7 separate regions of the Homo sapiens genome follow, and all the other regions are linked to region 1. Evidence: promoter capture Hi-C in 16 types of primary human blood cells and fetal thymus (Javierre and others, 2016). All regions are on one chromosome and are shown on one strand. The core of a region is centred on a gene start or on the middle of the fragment in contact, and the rest is flanking DNA. Distances in the headings are between cores, read along the strand shown.

Region 1 (2,868 bases), core at 191-2,690:
AGGGCGATAGGTACTTCCATACCCCCCCCAAATAAGACCCAAGTCCCAGCTTTGACAAAAGAACCATGTTTGGAAGAGAAACTGAAGTAAATTGGAAGGAAGCGCTTCAACAGGAGGAGAGTGGTTCAAAAGATGGACAAGAGGTAAGTTGTGATCTTCGAAGACCAGGTCATGGAGAAGGGGGCACCCTTAAAGGGAAGTGAGAGAGGGAAAGAAAGAATTTCATTCTAATTCCTGAGAGCAAGGCAGCGCATATAAAATTACCTAAGATTTACAGAGCGATTTGCCGTTTACAAAACATTATGACATTCACGATAACGTTTAATCCTTATCACCCTGAAACGCTGGTTACATTTTATTTTACACATGAGGAAACTGAGGCTGAGTAGGGCGGATTATGCGACTTGCTCAAGGTCACTTGGCTGAAGTCAGCGCTAGGATGCATCCCCAATGCCCCCACCCCTCCGGGTGGCCGTCCACCCTGAAAGTCTTTGTATTATCTCCTACAGGGCAAGGCTGGTGTGGCTGCAACAGACTTCGCCCCCTCACCCCCAAATCTGGGACGGAGCAGCGCCCTCAGGTGTCAAGGAGGGGACCTGAGTGACGCGGAGCCACTGACTGGGGTTTCCCTGTCCTGCGGGGCTCGCGGGAGCCAGGAGCAGAAGCCACAGCTCTCGAACACACGACAGGCAGTCAGTCAAGTCAGGCTCCAGCAGCAGTTGCCGGCGTGGGGCTTAACACGAGAGGGGCAGCGCTGGGTGAATTCCCCTCCGAGCGATCCCAGGGCTAGGACCAAGCGCCTGCGCCCGCTTCTCCGACCCGGCTCCCCACACTCCCCCCTGCCCCGCTGGCTCCTTCCCGGAGGTTCCCCTGTGCGTGGGGGCGCCCTGGAAGAGGAATGGGGCTGGGGTGGAGTATGGAGGTGTCAGAGGGCCGACCCCGGGGCGAGGGCTTCCAACGCCGATCTTATGGGTCAGGACAACCGCGAACAAACCCCGGCTGAAGTTTGGGCATCAAGGGTTTCAGACCAAGTAGCAAGTTGCCTGGAGAGCGAGCGGTCCTAGGTGGAGGGCCTGGGGCAGGGGTGGCGGTAGGGGAACAAGGGAGAGGCAGGAGATGGTGCCCCTTCCCACGCAGCCCCTCGCGGCCCCGCGGGTAGGTGGCCGGTCCGCCTCTGCAGCCCGCGGGTGCGGAGAAAGCGCCCGGCACCGGGCACCCGGCACCGCGGCGCAGCGCAGCCAGCCCCTCCTCGCCGCGCTCCGCGCTCCTCCCCACCTGCCCACGGCCTCGCCCCCGCCGCGGAGACTCACAGTCCTCAGAAACTGGATCTCGTCCTCGCCTCCTTCTCCCCCTTCGGCCATGGCTCCCGAGGCGTCGGCGGTGCCCCAGCCTCCGGCGCCTCTGCTTCCCCCGGCAGCCGCTCGGCGTGCGCTGACTGCTGCTGCGCTCTTTCTCCTCCTCCTTTTCGTCCTCGTCCTCCACCTCCTCCTCCAGCTCCTGGCTCAGCCTCAGCCTCAGCAGCGCCAAGCTAATCCCCGACCATATAGGGAGCTGGGCTAACACTCCACTGCACTGCAGAGCGCCAACGCCAACCAAGCAGTCCGCCCACCCCTCTCGCCTCTCGCCCCAGCCAAGTGCGCTGCGGCCGCCCGCTCCGTGGAGAGCGCAACGCTGGGCGCGTCGAGCTGGCGGGGGCGGTGCGGGGGCCCTGGGCTGGCGCGGTGGAGCCTCCCCCGCACCGCTGGGTACCGCACCGCACACTCAGCGGAGGCGCGCGCCCCGCGGCGACCGGAGGATGTCCCCTAAACTGCTCCAATTCACAAACAAAGGCCAGTTGCTTAGCTCCAGCGCGCCCAGACTGGGTACCAACCCTCTCGCTTTGCTCGCTTTGCCCGCTTTGCCCACTTTGCCTGTGTGTGTGTGTGTGTGTGTGTGTGTGTGTGTGTGTGTGTGACAGAGATAGAGAGAGAGAGAGAGGAAAGAGAGAGACAGAGACAGAGAGAGAGAGAGAGGAAAGAGAGAGACAGAGACAGAGAGACAGAGAGAGGAAAGAGAGAGAGACAGAGACAGAGAGAGAGAGAGAGAGAGAGAGAGAGATCTGGACTCGAATACCTTGCTAGGACCCGCGTGCATTGTTGGGCAAGGAGAAGACGGTGCAGTGAGGAGCGAGGGTGATTGTCCACTTACAACAAAGTTTGCAACTCCCTGGATAGTCCTTTCTACACCTTAAGAGAACCCCTTCCCCTCTTCAAAATTGGTAAGTACACTTTACCAAACCCCTGGATTGTCCAGGGTTGCTGTGACTTCTGTACCCCAGGGAGCTTCTGGGGGATCCTGTGCCACCCTCAATTTGGAAGTCAGGTGGCATCACAACCCTTCCTCTCTGCCCACCCCTAACCTTATTCTGCATTTAGAGTTCCAGCCCTGTGGACTCTAAAGGGAGTAGAGAGTAGTTACAGGAGGCTCCCTTCCAGGTCCTGGAAGGCTCCTACATCCCACCCAGCCTTAGGTCCTTTTCCATGGTTGGGGATTGCCAGATTGGTCCTTGCCTTGACTGACGGTGCAGGGTGCCCCCTTCTGTTTGATGGCCGAGAAGCTCCAAGGCAAGAGACTGTTCAAGGCAAAAGGCACCAGAGATGTAGATTTAGGAGGAAGTGCAACTGGGAAGGTGGTAATTCTGGGCTGATGATGGTGGAAGACACTGGAAACCCCAAGCCATTTCACAGCTTCATATACCGCCTCCTTGTGGACGACATCTATCTCTTGATGCTACCTTAAGATCTCTTTCCTGAGCTTCCGTCCCATATGTTCTGATGAACATCAGAAATGCAAAGAAAAATGTTTTTTTCTTGTATTGTACTCAAACTG
Region 2 (2,868 bases), core at 158-2,657, 460 kb before region 1:
TTGAAATTAAGCGAGAGTACAATAGCTGAGAGCTAGACAGGCAGATGGGAAATTCTGGTCCAGAACAAAAGTGGAAAAAGATAAATATTATATACTCAAATTAGGGAATTTCTTTCCATTCCAAGAGTATATTACTTCTTCTTCTTCTTCTTCTTCTTTTTTAATCTAAGAAAGAAAAGGCATGGAATAATTCTCTCTCTGCTCTGCCCTCAAGGTCAATGTAAGTGAATGGGCCCTGCACCTCCTATCTGGGGCCATGTGCACATACATCCACGACAAATACCAGTAGAACTCACAGAGTAGATCCATTCCAAACTGATGCTGAGTGACGTGCTCAAAGATGGACGTCAGGATGGGGAGCAGAGCCACTGTAGTGTAGTTAATATTCTGAGAAACGCCTTTAATCTGCGTTCGGGAATGGGTGAACTTCCCAAGTTTCAGGTTTTCTGAAGTCTTCTCCAAATCTTCTGCAGCATTTTCAAAGAATGCTCGTAACCCAGCCTTCACCAGCTCTGAGCCTGACTTCATGACAGTCCTGCAAGCAAACAATGTTCAAATCTAGAAGCATAATCTGAACTTTTGGCCAATCCCCTTCTTGAAACTGGCAGTGTCATCTGGGCAGACATTTGCCACTCCTGTCACTCAATGACACTGTGTCAGGAGAAAGGGAGAGAGCAGTTAACATCCAGGAAGAAACCTGAATCACACAATCCCAGAGGGGCTAGCCACTGGACAGTCTGAGGAAAACATTGCTCACCTCTTCAGGAAATGCAGAGAACAATTTAGAATGAAGCCAATATTGGTCACCCACTATTATCTACAGTAAGTTGCAACTGGCTAAAGTCTTCTGTAAAGATCTAGTTAAAAGAACAGGGAAATGAGCTTTAAGAAAAGTTGTGGGATAAACAACTTTTTTTTTTTTGAGACAGCGTCTCACCCTGTCACCAGGCTGGACTGCAATGGTGTGATCTCGGCTCACTGCAACCTCTGCCTCCCAGGTTACAGCAATTCTCCTGCCTCAGCCTCCCGAGTAGCTGGGATTACAGGCACCCGCCACCACGCCCAGCTAATTTTTGTATTTTTAGTAGAGACGGGGTTTCACCATGTTGGCCAGGATGGTCTCCAATTCTTGACCTGGTGATCCGCCCGCCTTGGCCTCCCAAAGTGCTGGGATTACAGGCGTGAGCCACCGTGCTCAGCCTAGATAAACAACTTTTATAAAGGTTAGCTAGAAACATAAACTCTTCCGATGTAAGACCTCTTAGAGGAAAAGAGCAAGGAAATAAGTCAACAGAAGCTTAGATTTCTGTTAGTTTGCGGGAAACGTCCTAGGTTGGATGAGGAAAGAGAAAAGAGACAACTAGCCGTTTTAAAGTAGACAGCTTAATCAGACCTCTGGAAAACACAAAACAAAACATTGAAATGTGATCTACAGGGATGAAGATCAGCTATGGAGATTTGAAGCCTTCCCTCAAAACTACAGTATTTCATAAAACTTAGAATTGGAACAAAGCTTACAAGTCATCTATAAGTTTTGTATTTCTATATCTTATTCAGAAGATTATGAAAGACTTGGTTCAAGGACAGATGCTTTTTATCTACATCATTTTCCTGATAATCATTCAACTCATCAAGACAATACAAACAAAGAAATAAAGTCAGTTAGGCTTGTTCTTATCCTATAAGTATTCATGGGCTATCTTTCTAACTTTTTTTTTTTGAGATGGGGTCTCACTCCGTTGCATAGGCTGGAGTGCAGTGACCTCTCATGAGAGCCTCCCATGCTCAGCAATCCTCTCACCTCAGCCTCCCGAGTAGCTGGGATCACAGGCATGTGCCATCATGTCTGGATAATTTTTAAAATTTTTTGTAGAGATGGGGGTCTATGTTGCCCAGACTGGTCTTGAACTCCTGGCCTCAAGCAATCCACCCACCTCTGCCTCCCAAAGTGCTGGGATTACAGGCGTGAGCCACTGCATCTGGCCCTTCCTAACTTTCTAGTCCCAGGTTTTGTCAGGAATAATTACTAAACACACCAACCTGCAACTGACCTTCATTTAAAACAAAACAAAACAAAATAAAACAAACAAACAAAAAACTGGACTCTCTCAAGACTTTTCCCAAGTTTCTTGGAGTAAAGATTTCTCATCCCTTTAATAGTCCTTATTCTCCTCCTTTTTTATAGCCATTCTCAGTTCATTGTGGATTTTCATCTTTGGGACGCTCTTTTAGTGTCCCACTCTTTTAGGTTGGTAACCTCTTTTGCATTGGGTCTTAGGAGGTGTGTCCTCCTCCCAATTTTGATAAAGACGTTTCTTTCTTTTTTTTTTTTTAAAGATGAGGTCTCTCTACATTATTCAGGCTGGTCTTGAACTCCTGAGTAGCTTCGACTATAGGCAGAAATCATGGTGCCCGGCTCTGACAAGGACCCTTCTTAATGGGCATGTTAAAGAAAGGTCCCTGTCAGTTCTTTCCACTGCTTCTCTCTTATTTATATATATTTTTTAAGACAGGGTCTGGCTCTGTCATCCAGGCTGGAGTGTAGTGGCGTGATCTCAGCTCACTGCAACCTCCACCTCCTGGGCTCAAGCCATCCTCCCACCTCAGCCACCCGAGTAGTTGGGACTACAGGCATGCACCACCATGCCTGGCTAGTTTTTGTATTTTCTGTAGATGTTTCACCATGTTGCCCAGGCTGGTCTTGAACTGTTGAGCTCAAGCGATCTGCCTGCCTCGGCCTCCCAAAGTGCTGGGATTATAGGCATGAGCCACCGCGCCTGGCCTGCGTCTCTCTTTTCAGTCTCATCATTTGTGTTATTACCAGAACTTATGTATTATTTTTTAAGACTTCTTCCCAAATCCCTAGGC
Region 3 (2,868 bases), core at 182-2,681, 440 kb before region 1:
TGAACCAAAGCTTCTCCCTCTTTGGTCCTCTCCACAGTCCAGCCCACAGCCAGCATGGTTTTCAGGGACTCTCGCGCAGGCCAGCGATAAATTTCCTTCTCCTAGAAGAGAATTTGAGCAGAAGCACTTTGCAGAACACACCCCAGCATTCTCCCTGGCCCATCTCCGCATGGAAGGTGCATCCCACTGTGGGTGGGGGTGCTAGTTAGCACCAGCCTTCTCTCACAAGGTCAAAACATCCTTTGTGGCATCTTACCCGAAACACAGTCTTTCTGGTGTTTTTAGATATAAGACCCTACGGTCTTTCCTGCCCTGGGAGGAAATGTGCCAGACATTATTAATGACATTATCTACATTCTGTAGACGAAGAACAGGAATGGGAGAGTGGCTCCTCATGTTCTAGTAGTTGTTGAAGATTGTCAAAATGCATCTGCATAAAGCTCTCCTGTGAGTTTGGGAAAGATAATTTCTTAGATTTAGAATTCTTGTGGGCTGGGCACGGTGGCTCATGCCTGTAATCCCAGCACTTTGGGAGGCCGAGGCGGGTGGATCACCTGAGGTCAGAAATTCGACACCAGGCTGGACAACATGGTGAAACCCCATCTCCACTAAAAACTCAAAAATTAGCTGTGCGTAGTGGTGCATGCCTGTAGTCCCAGCTACTCGGGAGGCTAAGGCAAAAGAATTGCTTGAAGCCAGGAGATGAAGCTTGCACTGAGCCAAGATTGCACCACAGCACTCTAGCCTGGGTGACAACAGTGAAACTCTGTCTCAAAAAAAAAAAAAAAAAAAAAAGGGTGACAACAGTGAAACTCCGTCTCAAAAAAAAAAAAAAAAAGATTTCTCTTTTGGTCTATGTACAATTTAATAGGTAGTCAACATGAATGCAAAGATACATACACCAGCCTTTACATGTGACACTAGGCCTAGGCCTAAAGCTTACTAAGAATCTTACAGATTGCAAGATAAGAATTCAGAGTTGAGTTAAACCAAATACGTTAATTAATTAATTTTTTTAAGCAAGAGATGCATTCTCTTAACCATATTTTCTTGAGGATTCTCTTCTCTATTACCTGTATCTTCCATGTATTAGAAATCATTTTTGGCTGGGCATGGTAGTTCACACCTGTAATTCCAGTGCTTTGGGAGGCCGAGGTGGGAGGATTGCTTGAGGTCAGGGGTTCAAGACCAGCCTGGCCAACATGGCGAAACCCCGTCTCTGCTAAAAAATTACAAACATTAGCTGGGCATGGTGGTGCATGCCTATAGTTCCAGCTACTTGGGAGGCTGAGGTGGGAGGATCACTTGAGCCCGGAAGGTGGAGGTTGCAGTGAGCCGAGATCACACCACTACACTCTAGACTGAGTGACAGAACGAGACCCTGCCTCAAAAGAGAAAAAAAAAAAAAAAAGAAGAAAGAAAGAAATTATTTTTGTCTGAATTTTTTCTTTTTCTTTTCTTTGAGATGGAGTCTCGCTCTGTCACCAGGCTGGAGTGCAGTGGCGTGATCTTGGCTCACTGCAACCTCTGCCTCCCGGTTTCAAGCAATTCTCCTGCCTGGCTAATCTTTGTATTTTCAGTAGAGATGGGGTTTCACCATGTTGGCCAGGCTGGTCTTGAAGCCCTGACCTCAAGCAATCCTCCCACCTTGGTCTCCCAAAGTGCTAGGATTACAGGCATGAGCCACCACACCCGGCCTTGTCTGAATTTTCTCCAGCAATTTCACCGTGCCTTCTCCCTGCCCCGCCCTAACCAAACCCCTTCCTGGTTCAGTTCAGTTGCAGAACTACAAATGCATTTTGGCCCAGCCTCAAAGTGCTGAACAATGCTTCTTTCACCAATGGCCTCTCAAAGCCAAAGAACAGAAAGTGAGGCTGGGCTCTCGGAAACTGGTCCTGAGGCACTTGCCCACTGGCAAGCTTGTGAACAGTTTACTGAGTCCTAGATGATGATGTTGTAGGGACGTGAGAGTGAATGTGCTCTGAACTCCTCTGATAAAATCACTCAAGGAAGGAAACAGCATGGTCACACAGTGTTACCAGAGGCCTGCTTCTTACCTTCTCCGTTAATGTCTTGAAAGGCCTTATCAGTGGGTGGGTCTTCACATTTTCATCCAGGGAAATCCCATATTTCCATCCACTCTGACTCTGTAGAAATGTTCTCAGTTCAAATATCCTTGGCACGCAAAGAACCCCGCTATGTGACCCAAATCCCTGCTTCTATTTTCATGGAGCAAGTGGAGTAATGGATAGTGACAGGGCTTAGAAATTCTCCTCAAAAATGCCTAATTGATCTTTTCAGGCCATCAGGCTCTCCGCCTCCTGAATCTTGAACTCTGCTCTTTTATTCCTTCTTGTTTCAGTTGCTGTCCTCTCCACTTTCTCACTTGTATTTCAGGCCCTCTTAAAACAGCATGTTTCAAAAGGCCCTGGGAATGGTGCTTCTCAGGTTAGAGTACTCCCCTCGCAGGAAGAACAGAGGCTAGGACTGGAAGGCCTGGGAAGACTGGACCTATTGCCACTGCCTAGAGGGGCCATTTGCCTTGCAACCCTTGCCTGCCAGTGCCAGAGCAAAAGTGTAGTGATGTGTGCTTCCTAGAGTCACAGAAGTTTAAGAACTTTTAGGGTTATTCAACAAATATTGGGTGAATGTCTTCTATGGTACACACCAGACTCTGTCCGAGGCACAGTGGATACAGAGATAAGTAAGAGCCCCTGATTTCTGTAACTTCACATCCCCAAGACTCCTGGCTGCTCTTTCTCAATCTCTGCTCCTGTCCATTTGTTAAATGTGTATATTTCCTAAGTTTCTGTCCCTTCTCAAGACATATACTTCCTGGGTGATCTAATTTAGGCCCTTGGTTTCAGT
Region 4 (2,868 bases), core at 254-2,753, 410 kb before region 1:
GCAGGCCAATATAAGAGAGTAGAAGGAGGGAATTCAGTTCCTCCTACACAACTTAGAGTGGCCCAGGTATAAGATAATAACAACTTGGAGTAGAAAGTGGCCAGTGGAGATGGAGAGAAGATAGATTTCAGATATCTTTTAGATGCTGAATCAACAGAACTTGGTGATGGACTGGATGTGGGAATAAGGAAAAAAGTTGATTCAAGGATGCTGTCTAGACTTAGTCTGAGTATCTGAAAAGTTGGTGGAGCTAGTTAAGGAGATGGAGAATCCTCGGGGAAGAACGGGTTTTGGGTGGTAATTACATACTCAGCTTTAAGATGTACAAAATTTAAGATGCGTATTAAACCTTCAAGTAGAAATACCAGGTAGATAACCAAGATATACAAGTCTGGGGCTCAGGGAAGAGGACAAAGCTGGCAAAGTACATCTGGGGATCATCAGTGTATACGTGGAATTCAAAGCCATGAAACCATGCAGGGTGGATGGTGCAGTAGTAGCCCAGATATTTTGAAGGCCAGTATTTAATCGCAGAATTGTGCTAAGATTTTGCCCATGTGTCTAGAGTTTGGGTCTATGTAGCTTTTTCATGAAATATGCCAAATAAAACTTGAATGCCATAGAAACCTGAAGTCAGAAGGTGTGCTCTGACAAAATATGGGCATTCTCAATAAGATGATGAAAATCAGCCTTTGATGGGCACAAGGATCATAATACTGCCATTTTGTGTGAATAATGTTGATGAAGTGGATTTTTTTTTTGTTTCATTCAGCTTAATTCTAGTTTTATTGAAGTATCAGGCTTCACTTACTACTCTTATCAATGAAATGGTTGATGAAATCCACATACGTATATTAAGTAGGTTCTGGACTTTTGAGTCCACTGCCAAGACACTCAGTTATCACTATCGTTGGAATCCCACAGGGGCCTTGGAGGCAAGCTGCTGAGAAATTCACTTAGGGTGAAAAGAATGTAGCTGATATCCTTTCACCCCAGCCAGCTTTCCTCATTTTGGTGCTCTGGGCCTAGGTTTGCCATTGGCTTCTTTATTTGAGGAATTTGTTTTCTATTACTGGTACTGTTTTGACTGTCTGCTTATTTCTGGACTTTGATGCTGTTTCACTTTGAATTTTTACAGATGGAGGCACATTTCCTTGCCTCTGTCACTAGAAGCCCTTTACCTGTCTGATAGATTTCCTTTCCTTTTCTCAGGTATAAAGATTCCAGGGAGTCCAGTGGGAGAACGAAGAAGGTAGGGTATGCAAGACTGTACACGCTTTATACTATGGTTTGAATCATGGTGCCTCCTCCGAAATTTATGTTGAAACTTAATCCCTAATGCAACAGTGTGTTAGGCCATTCTTGCATTGCCATAAAAAAATACCTGAGGCTGAGTAATTTATAAAGAAAAGAGGTTTAATTGGCTCATTGGTTCTGCAGGCTATACAGGAAACGGTGCCAGCAACTGCTTGGTTTCTGGTGAGGCCTTGGGAAACTTTTACTCATAGCAGAAGATGAAGGGGGAGCAGGTGTCTCAGAGAACGAGAGAAAGAGTGGGAGGAAGGTACCACACACTTAAGCAACCAGAGCTTATGAGAACTCACTAGTGTGAGGACAGCACCAAGCCAAGAGGCATCTGCCCCCATGATCCAAACACGTCCCACCAGGCTCCACCTCCAACATTCGGGATGAGAATTCAACATAAGATTCAGAGAAGACAACATCCAAACCATATTAAACAGTATTAGGAAGTGTGGCCTTTGGGAGGTGATTAAGTTATAAGGATCTCTGCCCACATGAGTGGGATTAGTACCCTTATAAAAGGGTTTAAAATTGAAGGGATGGTCTCTTGCCCTTCAATTGATTCTGCCATGTGAGGACACAGTGTTCCTCCTCTCCAGAGGATGCAGCAACATGGTACTATCTTGGAAGCAGACAGCAGCCCTCCCAGACATCAATCTTACTGGTGCCTTGTTCTTGAACTTCCCAGTCTTCAGAGCTGTGAGAAATAAATTTCTGTCTTTATAAATTATCCAGTCTCAGGTATTTTGTTGCTGCAGTATAAATGGACTAAGATACCTTACAGTTAGTACAAAGGTGTAACATAGATGTTAAGAATCCAGCTGCAACTAGCCATATCTCAAATGTACCTTATATTCTACCTTCTTATCACTCTAGCATGATTGTATCTCCTGAGTACAACATTGCGATGTTGTTCCTATTTGTCTTAAACTGTTATTTAAATCTTTTGCCATTGGTTAATTTTTCAAGAGCTTGCTGAATCTTTTCAACTGTTTTATAAATTTGAGAACAAAACTATGTGTCACACATTTAGTCCTAACCATGCCTAGTCTAGTACCAATCACACTGAAGAATGGTTAACATGCCCTTTCTGACTCTAAAAACATGAATACAAGGGCAGAAATAAACCAGATGATTCTTAAGTGTCTACACCTTGTATGCCCTTCAAAGCTAAGATGACACTTTGTACTCTCAACCCTAAAAGATGTATGTCTCCCAGCACAACAGTCTATCCATATGCTCTCCCTTTAGGACTTTGTTAAACTATATCCATTTATTTCAAGATGTTATTCAACACTTGCCTTCTTCCTCATGCATCCCTTGACTAATTCTACCAGATTCCAATAAACACCATCATTTTGGCATGCCAATGTCTCATGTGTCACTATGTAGGTAGGTGTGGTTGATTACAAAGTTTTTAGTAATTATTCCATACATGTTTCTGATCACTCTACTTGGGTTTTCTCTGTTTCCTGCTTTGAGTTGTAGGAAGTGACTTCTGGGCAGGACTTCTAGAGCATCACGTTTCACAGCCCCTCATAGACTCTTCACATGTCACATGATGGA
Region 5 (2,868 bases), core at 274-2,773, 380 kb before region 1:
GATAATGTTGAAAGTGACAGAGATCTTTCCCCTGGCAACTTGCCACGCTAATTTAGCTTCTGTTCCATTTAAATTCTAGCTCCCAACTTCCAGACCTCTTAGGGAGGGAATGCCTCTTATGCTTCTCGATTTCCCTTTCCTCCTTAATTTCATCACTCAGGAATTCAACAGAAGCTTTGTCTCCTTTGGTGTGCAGTGCACAGCCGCTGTAGCCCCAGGCACAGGGCGTAGGAGGGCCTAGGAGGCCCCAGGAGGCCAGGCTGCCATGCAGACCCCATACACATGCACACTGAGCAGCGCAAAGGGCCGGGCACAGGACCTGGGCGCTGCTGGAGTGGTGGCGCAGGCATGGTAGCATGGAGGGCAGCAACTGCAGAGCCCGGGGCACCAGGCATGCAGCATCACAGAGGCGACCACCAATACGTATGGATGCACTCCTAGTTATTACTTACGTAGTAAGAAGGAAAGCAAGACAAAAACAAAGACTCTTGGACCCAATTTAAGTTTTTCTAGTCCCGTCAGTACAATTTCCTCTAAAACCTATACCTTGGCTTGAAAGAATTATAGTTCTCACGACTAACAAAACAATTCTCTGCAGATATAATACATGCTATCCCAGTCCCTGCCACACTGGAAAAGCAATAATCAGATCTGGTGGAATTGCTAACCTGCTCAAGGACCATCTTCTCTTCAACAGAGAATTTTACAGAATCATAATAAAACCAAGTACATATGAGTTTCCTTTAACCTGGCTTTCAGATTAATTCAGGATTTGGGTAAGCTCTTAGCCTCACACTGACTCAAAAATCCAAACAAATATTTATGGCCTAGAGAGCATGTAAAGCAAAACACCTCACTAGAGGGCAAAATGGGAAAGAAAACACCCTTTTAGCCTCAAAGCATGAAGCAGCAAACACCTGCCACTCCATTCTTTGTCCAGGCAAGCCTTCAAAGTAAGTGTCAGAGAACGGGATAAATATTTATGTGTGACCAAGCTGAAGTACAGTTAAAAAAAAAAAAAAAAAGTAGTCCCCAGGTCCTGCCAGAAAAGGAGGCAAGACTTACCGCTGTGTTGCTGACAGGCAGATGTAATTCCATGGAAGGCCTGACATTTAAAGCCATATGTACTGGAAAATGTTTCAAATTGTGAGACCAAGGTGCAGTAAGTGAGAGAAACAATAACTATGAAAAGAAATAAAATTCAGGGGGAGAGGGGCAGAAGGGGACATTTTCAGGAGCCATGAAAAGCACAACATATTTTGTCATCTGACATATACTAGAGACCCAGGACCCACCAAGCAAACCCAGGCACAACCAATGAACTTCTCAAGGTCTAAACACTTTTGGGATGGAGAAAATGGAGCTTTATACCCCTAGCAAGCAATGCTACTAAAAATTCTTCAGATTTTAATTAGCTCCCGTGCATCAGCAGCAGAGCAGCCAAAACATACCAGAGTCCAGAAGTTAAAAAGAATACATTTTCTAGATTGTGTTAGGCTCTCCATATACCTGTATATCTGATGATTAAAGTAATTAATGCATATAACCATGGATGGCACATACTGCAGGTTTAATAAAGGTGAACTATTACTGACATCTCTACCAAGAGTCATAAAAATGTGATCTGCAGAGCCCTGGGGGCCCAAGACCCTTTAGATACCCTTTAAGTCCAAATGTGTTTTCATAAAAATTCTAAGATATTGTTGGCCTTTTTCATCGTGTTGATAATTGCACTGATGGTGCAAAAGCAATGCTGAGTAAAACTGCTTGTGCCTTAGCTTGAATCGAGTTAGCAGCACCCAACTATATTTTTTATTGCCACACTTCCAGATAAATGCGTTTCACAGAAGGATGTCCTGAATAAAGCAGTAAAAATTATTAATTTTATTAATCATAAACTCTCGAGTTTACATCTTTAAAATATCCTCTGTGATAGAATGGTACAGAGAAAGAAAAGAAGTAAAGCACTTCTGCTATGTATTAAAGTTCAGTGTTTTTTTCTGGAGGAAAAGTACTTGTGTGATGGAGTTGTGAGCTGAACTAGCTGCTTATTTCATGAATGCCATTTTTAATTAAAGAATAAGAAACTATGGTTAACTTGAACAAATGAAAAAAATGAAATGAAAAAAATGAAAAAAGTAAGCCTTTCACTTCAAGTGATAGTATTTGTTGCCAATAATGAAATTTGACCTTTCAAGTGAAAATCAGAATTTTGAAAAATGTTTAGCTGCCACTGGGAGCTCGACAGCTTCCCAGTACTTAAAGACTTTTCTGATTAACCTGTCTATACTAACAAATGTGATTTTTAAACTATTTTATAATGAAATGTGTCAAGATTTTGAAGTTCTTATTAACTCAACGAACCAATAATCTCTCAATGATCAATGAATGACATTACAAAAACATTCTTAGGTAAAAGATCCATTCAATGTGCAAGATAGACCAATGAATTGTTACATAACAAAGTACAGACATCTAGTTAATATGGTTTCAGATTCCACATGCCAACTAACTTTTCAGAAACTACTACTTGTTCAGATATAGTTTTACAGAAGAATATCCATAATTATTGGAAAAGGCTATGAAAAATACTACTACCCTTCCAATTATGTATTTAAGGCCATTTTTCTTCCTATTCTTTAACCAGATATAAGAATCCAGCTGCCTTCAATTAAGTCAGACATTAAAGAGATTTATAATCATGCAAAGAAATATCACTTTGTTTTGAAAAATTTAGTTTTCATAAAAGTATCTTTATGTAACATGTAATAAGGTTTTTATTTTTAAATTAATAAATATTTAAATATTTGTCAATTTTAATTTTAAATTTGGTAAACACTGATAGATATAATCCACATAAACTAAAGC
Region 6 (2,868 bases), core at 111-2,610, 340 kb before region 1:
CAATAAAAAAAAAATGCCTACAAGGGGATTTCCCAGCCGTGGGTCAGTCTGGCAACACATACTCGGTGAGCATTCACTAGATGCCAGGTACTGTTTCATGCATGGGGAGGCGGCAGTGAGCACAGGAGAGGGCCTCTGCCCTCAAGGAGCTTACCTTCTAAATGAGGAACTTACATGCCCATGGATTGCGCAACCAGCCCAGATTTAGCACTGCCGTGGTATGCCACTGACAGTTTCCCTTTTGTATTTGAGGCACCTTTCATCACTGGCTGATCTGTTTTGTCCTTGCAATAATGGACATTCTTTTTCTAATCATGTGTGAAGGTCATGGCACAGGAATGGGCCTGAATTGAAAGCTAACCCCTCTTGTAAATCCAAACCTCATAGCTGCCTGTGTCTCAGACTGGTGTGCCTGGAGTGGCAATCACTGAGGAGTATCTCTTGAATGTAGATTTTATTTCTCAAATTCGCCACTGATTATATTAAGTGGACAGAAAAATGTGTTCAAATTGTTTATCACTATTTAATGGGGAGGTCTAGAAACATTGTTTGAGAGACTCCTTCTCTCATTATTTTGGTTTCTAGTCCTTTCTGAATCTGAAAGCCAGTGTATAAATATTGCTGGACTGTTCTTCTTGACATAATTGAAAAATGAAAATGGCTACAGCTGTGGAATAACAACGATCCCACTGTCAGGGACCAAATGCATGGCAGGACACGTTACTGTCTCGCCTGGAATGAGAAGGGGGCTGGCTGGGTGTGAACCTCTCAGGTTTCTGGACAGAGTCCTGATACTGTCTCCTTTGCGGCAGCATTCTTAAGGGCAAGAGTCAGGACTGGGATCGCTGAGCAGGGTCATCAGGATTTCTATGCACAGGGTGGAGGAAGGCTCTCCAGGAGGTAGGGTACCAGCACCCAGCCAAAAGAAGACAACTGACCAGCCTATGTCACCCAGAAGGATGGTGAAAGGTGGGCTAAAGCTGTCACAGTGTCCTCCTCTTCAACATCACAGGTTCTTTCCTGAAGCAGGCAAGTCACTGCTGCTGCAAATGCCATTTTAAAAAATTAATTATTTTTTTTGAACTTCCAAAGATCAGCTAGTCTTAAAAGTTATGAGATGCTTTAGCGTCCTCTGCAGCTCAGGGAGGACCCTTCAGTTAAACTCATTTCTAAAGTTAATGGGAAAAAGCTAATGGATTTTGAAGGACAGCAGTAATGTATATAAAACATTTCTCAGGGGATTTGGGGGTGGAGGAGATAGAATCATGAAAAAGTACTAGAAGAATAATACTTTACTTTCTGCCTCAAAGCCTGGCTTTGTGAGTGCATCTTTCTGGAAATAGCTGGTTGGGCCCCAGCTGCTGAAGCAAGCGTGCCAAGTGGTGATGATTCCACTTTCTCCCAGGAAGAGGAGGAGGTGCAGAGAGGGTCATGCACTGCAGGAGGTGCTGGAGAGACAAGGTGGCGGCCTCTGTGCCAACAGGCTGCTCCCCGCCCCCAGGAAGGGTTTGGTCCATCTGTTCTTAGTCAATGAACATTTCAGATGGGAGGTGGCTACTCTGTCTGCTGTCTACCTTACCCCCTCTCTCCAACCACAGGCCAGAGAACTGGCTGCCAAGAGGCTTTTCAGCCTGAAGGCTGTAACCTGAGGCTGATTTAAGAATCAGGGGTTTTATCCATGTACATCATAGCAGGATGTTTTTAATTTGCTATAGTTAGGTAAACTGGTGACCCTGAAAAACTGTTGGATGCCCTAAGTACGGCATGCCACTCTCCTGCTCAGAAACCTTCAATGGCTCCCCATTTCCTATCTATATCTCCCTAGCTTTCCAAACAAATTTCTTACCAATAACCATAAGAGCCCTATGCGATGTTGTCCACAGATCCCCAAACACACTTTCTGCTTCCCTATCTCCATGATACTTCTTGAGCTATGTATTCAACACTCTTCTCCTTCTACCCATGAAAATTCATTCTTTTTTTTTTTTTAAGACAGGGTCTTACTCAGTCACTCAGAGTAGGGTACAGTGGAACAATCATGGCTCACTGCAGCCTTGACCTCCCCGGACTCAAGTGAGTCTCTTAGCCTCCTGAGCAGCTGGGACCACAAGTGTATGCCACCACACCCAGCTAATTTTTCTATTTTTTGTAAAGCTGAGGGTCCACCATGTTGCCCAGGCTGGTCTCGAACTCCTGAGCTCAAATGATCTGTCTGCCTCGGCCTCCCCAAGATACTGGAACTACAGGTGTGAGCCTCCATGCCTGGCCCGTAAAAACGCTTTTTCCTTAAAAAAATAAATAAATCAAGATTTCTCCTTAATGAACATTCTCCTGACTGCTTGTGATGGAGTGAGCTCTTCCTTTTTTGAACTCGTACAGCGTTCTCTGTCTACAAATACTTGTGACTCTCCATTCTACCTTGGAGAGTCGAGAATGTTTAACGTAGACATTAACCTCCCATCTCCCATAGTTTGCTCTGTGGAACTCTAGGTTCATAGAACATTATTGATTCTTAAAATTAAAAAAAGTGCTTTTCTTTGTCAAATAATTTGAGAACTGCTTGGTTACATAGGTTTCTTTCTGAAGTATTTCTCAAATATTTCAGTGTGCTAATAACCTTCATTATAAAACTTCAAGAGGTGGATGTGATATGTGGCAGTTTCCCAACCTTACCTGGCCATCAAGGATGAAGAGATCAGGCTGCTTGTGGTTAATGACAGGTAAACCTACATGTGTATAACAGGTGGTTTTCCTGAGTAGCTCTATGGAAGTTCACGGTCCAGGAAATGAGGAAACACATTGTTTATATAAATGTATTTTTTTTTTTTTTGAGATGGAGTCTTGCTTTGTTGCCCAGGCTGGGGTGCA
Region 7 (2,868 bases), core at 185-2,684, 320 kb before region 1:
AAGAATGATGTCAGAGTATTTTTGAACTTAAAGTGATCTTAGCAGTTAGCTGTCCAGTCCAAGAGTTACAGCCTCAAATGTCTGTAAGTTGACTGATAATGGGAAGAAGTGGAAGAGCTCTATGTAGACACATCGTGTAAATGCAGAAGACTAGGGCACACTGCGGAGTGAAACCTTAGGAAAGCAGATTGTCATGGCCATGTGGGAATATGAGTTTAAAGGTATCTATGGCCCTAGGGCCATTGACTGCCTAGGCCAGGGCCAGAATCCAACAGTGATGAACCACAGACCAGGGCTCAATCCATCCAGGACCTCTGAGCAACATGAGATGCAGGGTCTATTGTAGGTAGGTATAAGATAAAGTTCTGCATCCACCTTTTCAGGATGCTGCCCTTGGGCAGAGTCAGGATGCACTGACTGTTGTGTCCTGACCTCAGCAGCTCTGGCCAGCAGCCTGTTCCTCCACTGCAGCCTGTCAGATGTGCTTTTCTTGGTACTAGGAGTTGCGTGTGTGAGAGTGGATCTTGGAAGTTTAAGAGGAAAGAAGGGGGAAGATAAACGTTTGATTAAAGCTGGCACTGCTTGGCTCCTAAGTAATGATGACACCTGTGTGTGAATCCATCTGCATATCTGCTGGCATGCATGAGAGCAAACAAGCAAGGGGGCCAGTGGATGTGCCGCTGAGCAAGCATTTGAATGTGCAAGGACAAGAAATGTGCAACTGTGTCTGAATGTAGTGGGAGAGAGGCAGAGCAGGACACAGGCAGATATAGGAGGTCAAACGAATGGTGGCAGAGATACCCCTTCCACAAAGGACTTACAAGGCTGGTCCAATGCCAGAGGAGTGACTCTCTGTCATGGCTGGGAACCACTTTTCAGCTTTTGTGCTGAATGCTATTCTTATAGATCAAAGACAGTGCATCCATCTGACCTCCTGGCTCAAAACTAACAATATTAGTGTGAGGTCCAGGTGGAAGGGGCAAAGAGAGGGAAAACCCTGAAATACTTCTTCACCAGGCTTCTATCTGAGGGCTTCAGTGTCATCTAGGAAACAGGGGAGCCCTTCTGAGCTGGTGCTAGCAACTATGTGGGCTGTTGTCTGTCTTGGTACCACCCTCCTGGATTAAAAATCCAGGCTGAAGCATTAAAGTCTTGAACCATTAAAAAAAAAATCACCTACTTTTTGGGCAGTTTGACCTTCTTGAGATCCTCCTCAGCAGCTGGGTTAACATGAGCAATGTGGCACCCCAGGGCCAAGAGGGTTCTGTGACACAACAGAAGGAGAAGACTAAGGTTAACTGCAGTGTTAGGAACAGCAGGAACCCTAATTCACATCCGAGTTGAAAACAGACAAGAGCCATTCATTTAGCCCAGGGGTCAGTAGACTTTTTCTGTAAGGGGCCACAGAGTAAATGCCTTAGGCTTTGTGAGCCATATGTCTCTGTCACAGCTACAACTCTGTGATTACAGAGCAAAGCCAGCCATAGGCAATATGAAAACCAATGAGCTTGACTCTGTTACAATAACAATCTATTTACAAAAATAGGTAGCTGGTCTGATTGTCCCATGGGCCATAATTTGTCAACTCCCGATTTAGATGATAGCAAGCATAAGATTACAGAAGAGAAATTTGTTAATTGCCCCTCTTGGAGACATTTTTCTATTTTATAAATTTGCATTACAATTATATGCCTCTTCGAATTCCATGGAACAGATAGAATTCTAATATCCAGCCCACAGGTCAGCAAATATTTACTGCATGATGCCTGTAAGGGCATGAGCTGTGCTTAAAACCATGAAGTACAAAGCCATACCCTCAAGAGGTGCCAGTGTAATTGAAGGTATCCCATGTAAGCCTGTGGGACAAGGGACCTTACGGAGCATCGTTATGCCAACAAAACCACAAAGTTAAAATGTTCTGCAGTGACAACTAGAGAACAGGGAAATACAAAGACAAGAGAACAGGTAACAAGCCCCCAAAGAATTCAAAATGGGAGATAACAATTTAGGCTAGAGAAGTTAAAGTCTAAATTAGGCCCATGGGTAGCATCACGGAGAAGCGAAAATTATTTTAAAATTGAATTTTAGTGTATCAGATCAGGTTTCCCAACGGGTTTTAGAAATGCTTCATTTTTTTTCCTTTATTTAATGTGAACTGCAGGAGGTACTTGGTCCTTTGATTCTAAGTTTCTTTTCTGCCTCTTACTTTTTCCCTGCCCCTAGCAAATAGCAAATGGTTTAAGAAATATAGTCAATAATAATGGTGGATGGTTATGCTAAATCCTCTTGTGACATGATTCATCATCATCTCCTCTAATTTATCAGAATGTGCCACGTTTTCAGGCAAGAGACATATCTTTGCAGTTTAGTTATAATGCATTAAATCATCTATTCATTGTTTGTAAAACTTCAGCTCAATTAAATACTCACTTTAAGGTTTCAGTTGACATTTGCAGGTTATAGTTCTTCTCAGTTTCTGGGAGCTTTGAAAACTCCACAAGGCAAGGGTGTTGTCTTTTATTGTCATCTCGTATCTAGGTGGTGACATAAGAAAGAATGTGATTTAAGTTTTGACCAGCTGGCACTGCATGGGAAAACAGAACAGAACATACTTTGAAACATGGCCCAGGCAATCCATATCAGGCAAGAGAAAGACAGCAACTTGCTATTCGGCAAACAGATGATCTCTCTAGTCAATGAGACACACAGTCTCCAAGTTGCCAGTGGTTTGTGCTCCGTGGATTTATTTCTAGACAGGCATCTGCATTTTGAACATACTTTCCGAAAGAAGCAGTGCTACATGTGGCAGCCATGCTCTTGTTCCTCCAAAATTCATGTAACCATAACGTTTCTGAAGAGGAACATTCT

Evidence for each region. Contacts are between HindIII fragments. The CHiCAGO score rates a contact against its expected background, and 5 or more counts as called.
Region 2: a fragment that was not itself captured here is called in contact with the fragment with the promoter of RYR3 in region 1 in 4 of 17 cell types (megakaryocytes, endothelial precursors, erythroblasts and 1 more); the score reaches 6.7 in megakaryocytes.
Region 3: a fragment that was not itself captured here is called in contact with the fragment with the promoter of RYR3 in region 1 in 3 of 17 cell types (megakaryocytes, endothelial precursors and erythroblasts); the score reaches 10.7 in megakaryocytes.
Region 4: a contact is called between a fragment that was not itself captured here and the fragment with the promoter of RYR3 in region 1, in 6 of 17 cell types (megakaryocytes, erythroblasts, M1 macrophages and 3 more). The highest score is 24.0, in megakaryocytes.
Region 5: a contact is called between a fragment that was not itself captured here and the fragment with the promoter of RYR3 in region 1, in 8 of 17 cell types (megakaryocytes, erythroblasts, M2 macrophages and 5 more). The highest score is 40.1, in megakaryocytes.
Region 6: a contact is called between a fragment that was not itself captured here and the fragment with the promoter of RYR3 in region 1, in 6 of 17 cell types (megakaryocytes, erythroblasts, endothelial precursors and 3 more). The highest score is 18.2, in megakaryocytes.
Region 7: a contact is called between a fragment that was not itself captured here and the fragment with the promoter of RYR3 in region 1, in 4 of 17 cell types (megakaryocytes, erythroblasts, M1 macrophages and 1 more). The highest score is 15.4, in megakaryocytes.

The regions. Positions count from the first base shown.
Region 1 is chr15:33,309,539-33,312,406 of GRCh38, reverse strand. RYR3 (ryanodine receptor 3) reads right to left here and starts at 1,440. Exons shown (of 104, transcript NM_001036.6): 1 at 1,311-1,440. The coding sequence starts at 1,361. RYR3-DT (RYR3 divergent transcript) reads left to right here and starts at 1,748. Exons shown (of 3, transcript NR_120327.1): 1 at 1,748-1,829. RefSeq lists enhancers at 198-707, 708-1,219. The HindIII fragment of the contact is 6,631 bases long and covers 1-2,868 here.
Region 2 is chr15:33,769,587-33,772,454 of GRCh38, reverse strand. RYR3 (ryanodine receptor 3) reads right to left here. Exons shown (of 104, transcript NM_001036.6): 63 at 297-535. Among named protein-coding and RNA genes, the nearest start is that of CHRM5, 200 kb to the left of the region's middle. The HindIII fragment of the contact is 216 bases long and covers 1,300-1,515 here.
Region 3 is chr15:33,745,347-33,748,214 of GRCh38, reverse strand. RYR3 (ryanodine receptor 3) reads right to left here. Exons shown (of 104, transcript NM_001036.6): 53 at 2,058-2,147; 54 at 1-101. Among named protein-coding and RNA genes, the nearest start is that of CHRM5, 220 kb to the left of the region's middle. The HindIII fragment of the contact is 981 bases long and covers 941-1,921 here.
Region 4 is chr15:33,714,768-33,717,635 of GRCh38, reverse strand. All of the region lies in intron 43 of RYR3 (ryanodine receptor 3), which reads right to left. Among named protein-coding and RNA genes, the nearest start is that of CHRM5, 250 kb to the left of the region's middle. The HindIII fragment of the contact is 3,302 bases long and covers 1-2,868 here.
Region 5 is chr15:33,690,777-33,693,644 of GRCh38, reverse strand. The region is part of intron 38 of RYR3 (ryanodine receptor 3); the gene reads right to left. It also overlaps the pseudogene C1QBPP3. Among named protein-coding and RNA genes, the nearest start is that of CHRM5, 280 kb to the left of the region's middle. The HindIII fragment of the contact is 2,693 bases long and covers 177-2,868 here.
Region 6 is chr15:33,653,632-33,656,499 of GRCh38, reverse strand. The region is part of intron 32 of RYR3 (ryanodine receptor 3); the gene reads right to left. Among named protein-coding and RNA genes, the nearest start is that of CHRM5, 310 kb to the left of the region's middle. The HindIII fragment of the contact is 5,067 bases long and covers 1-2,868 here.
Region 7 is chr15:33,629,606-33,632,473 of GRCh38, reverse strand. RYR3 (ryanodine receptor 3) reads right to left here. Exons shown (of 104, transcript NM_001036.6): 22 at 2,431-2,534; 23 at 1,181-1,264. Among named protein-coding and RNA genes, the nearest start is that of RYR3, 320 kb to the right of the region's middle. RefSeq lists a silencer at 358-577. The HindIII fragment of the contact is 3,990 bases long and covers 1-2,868 here.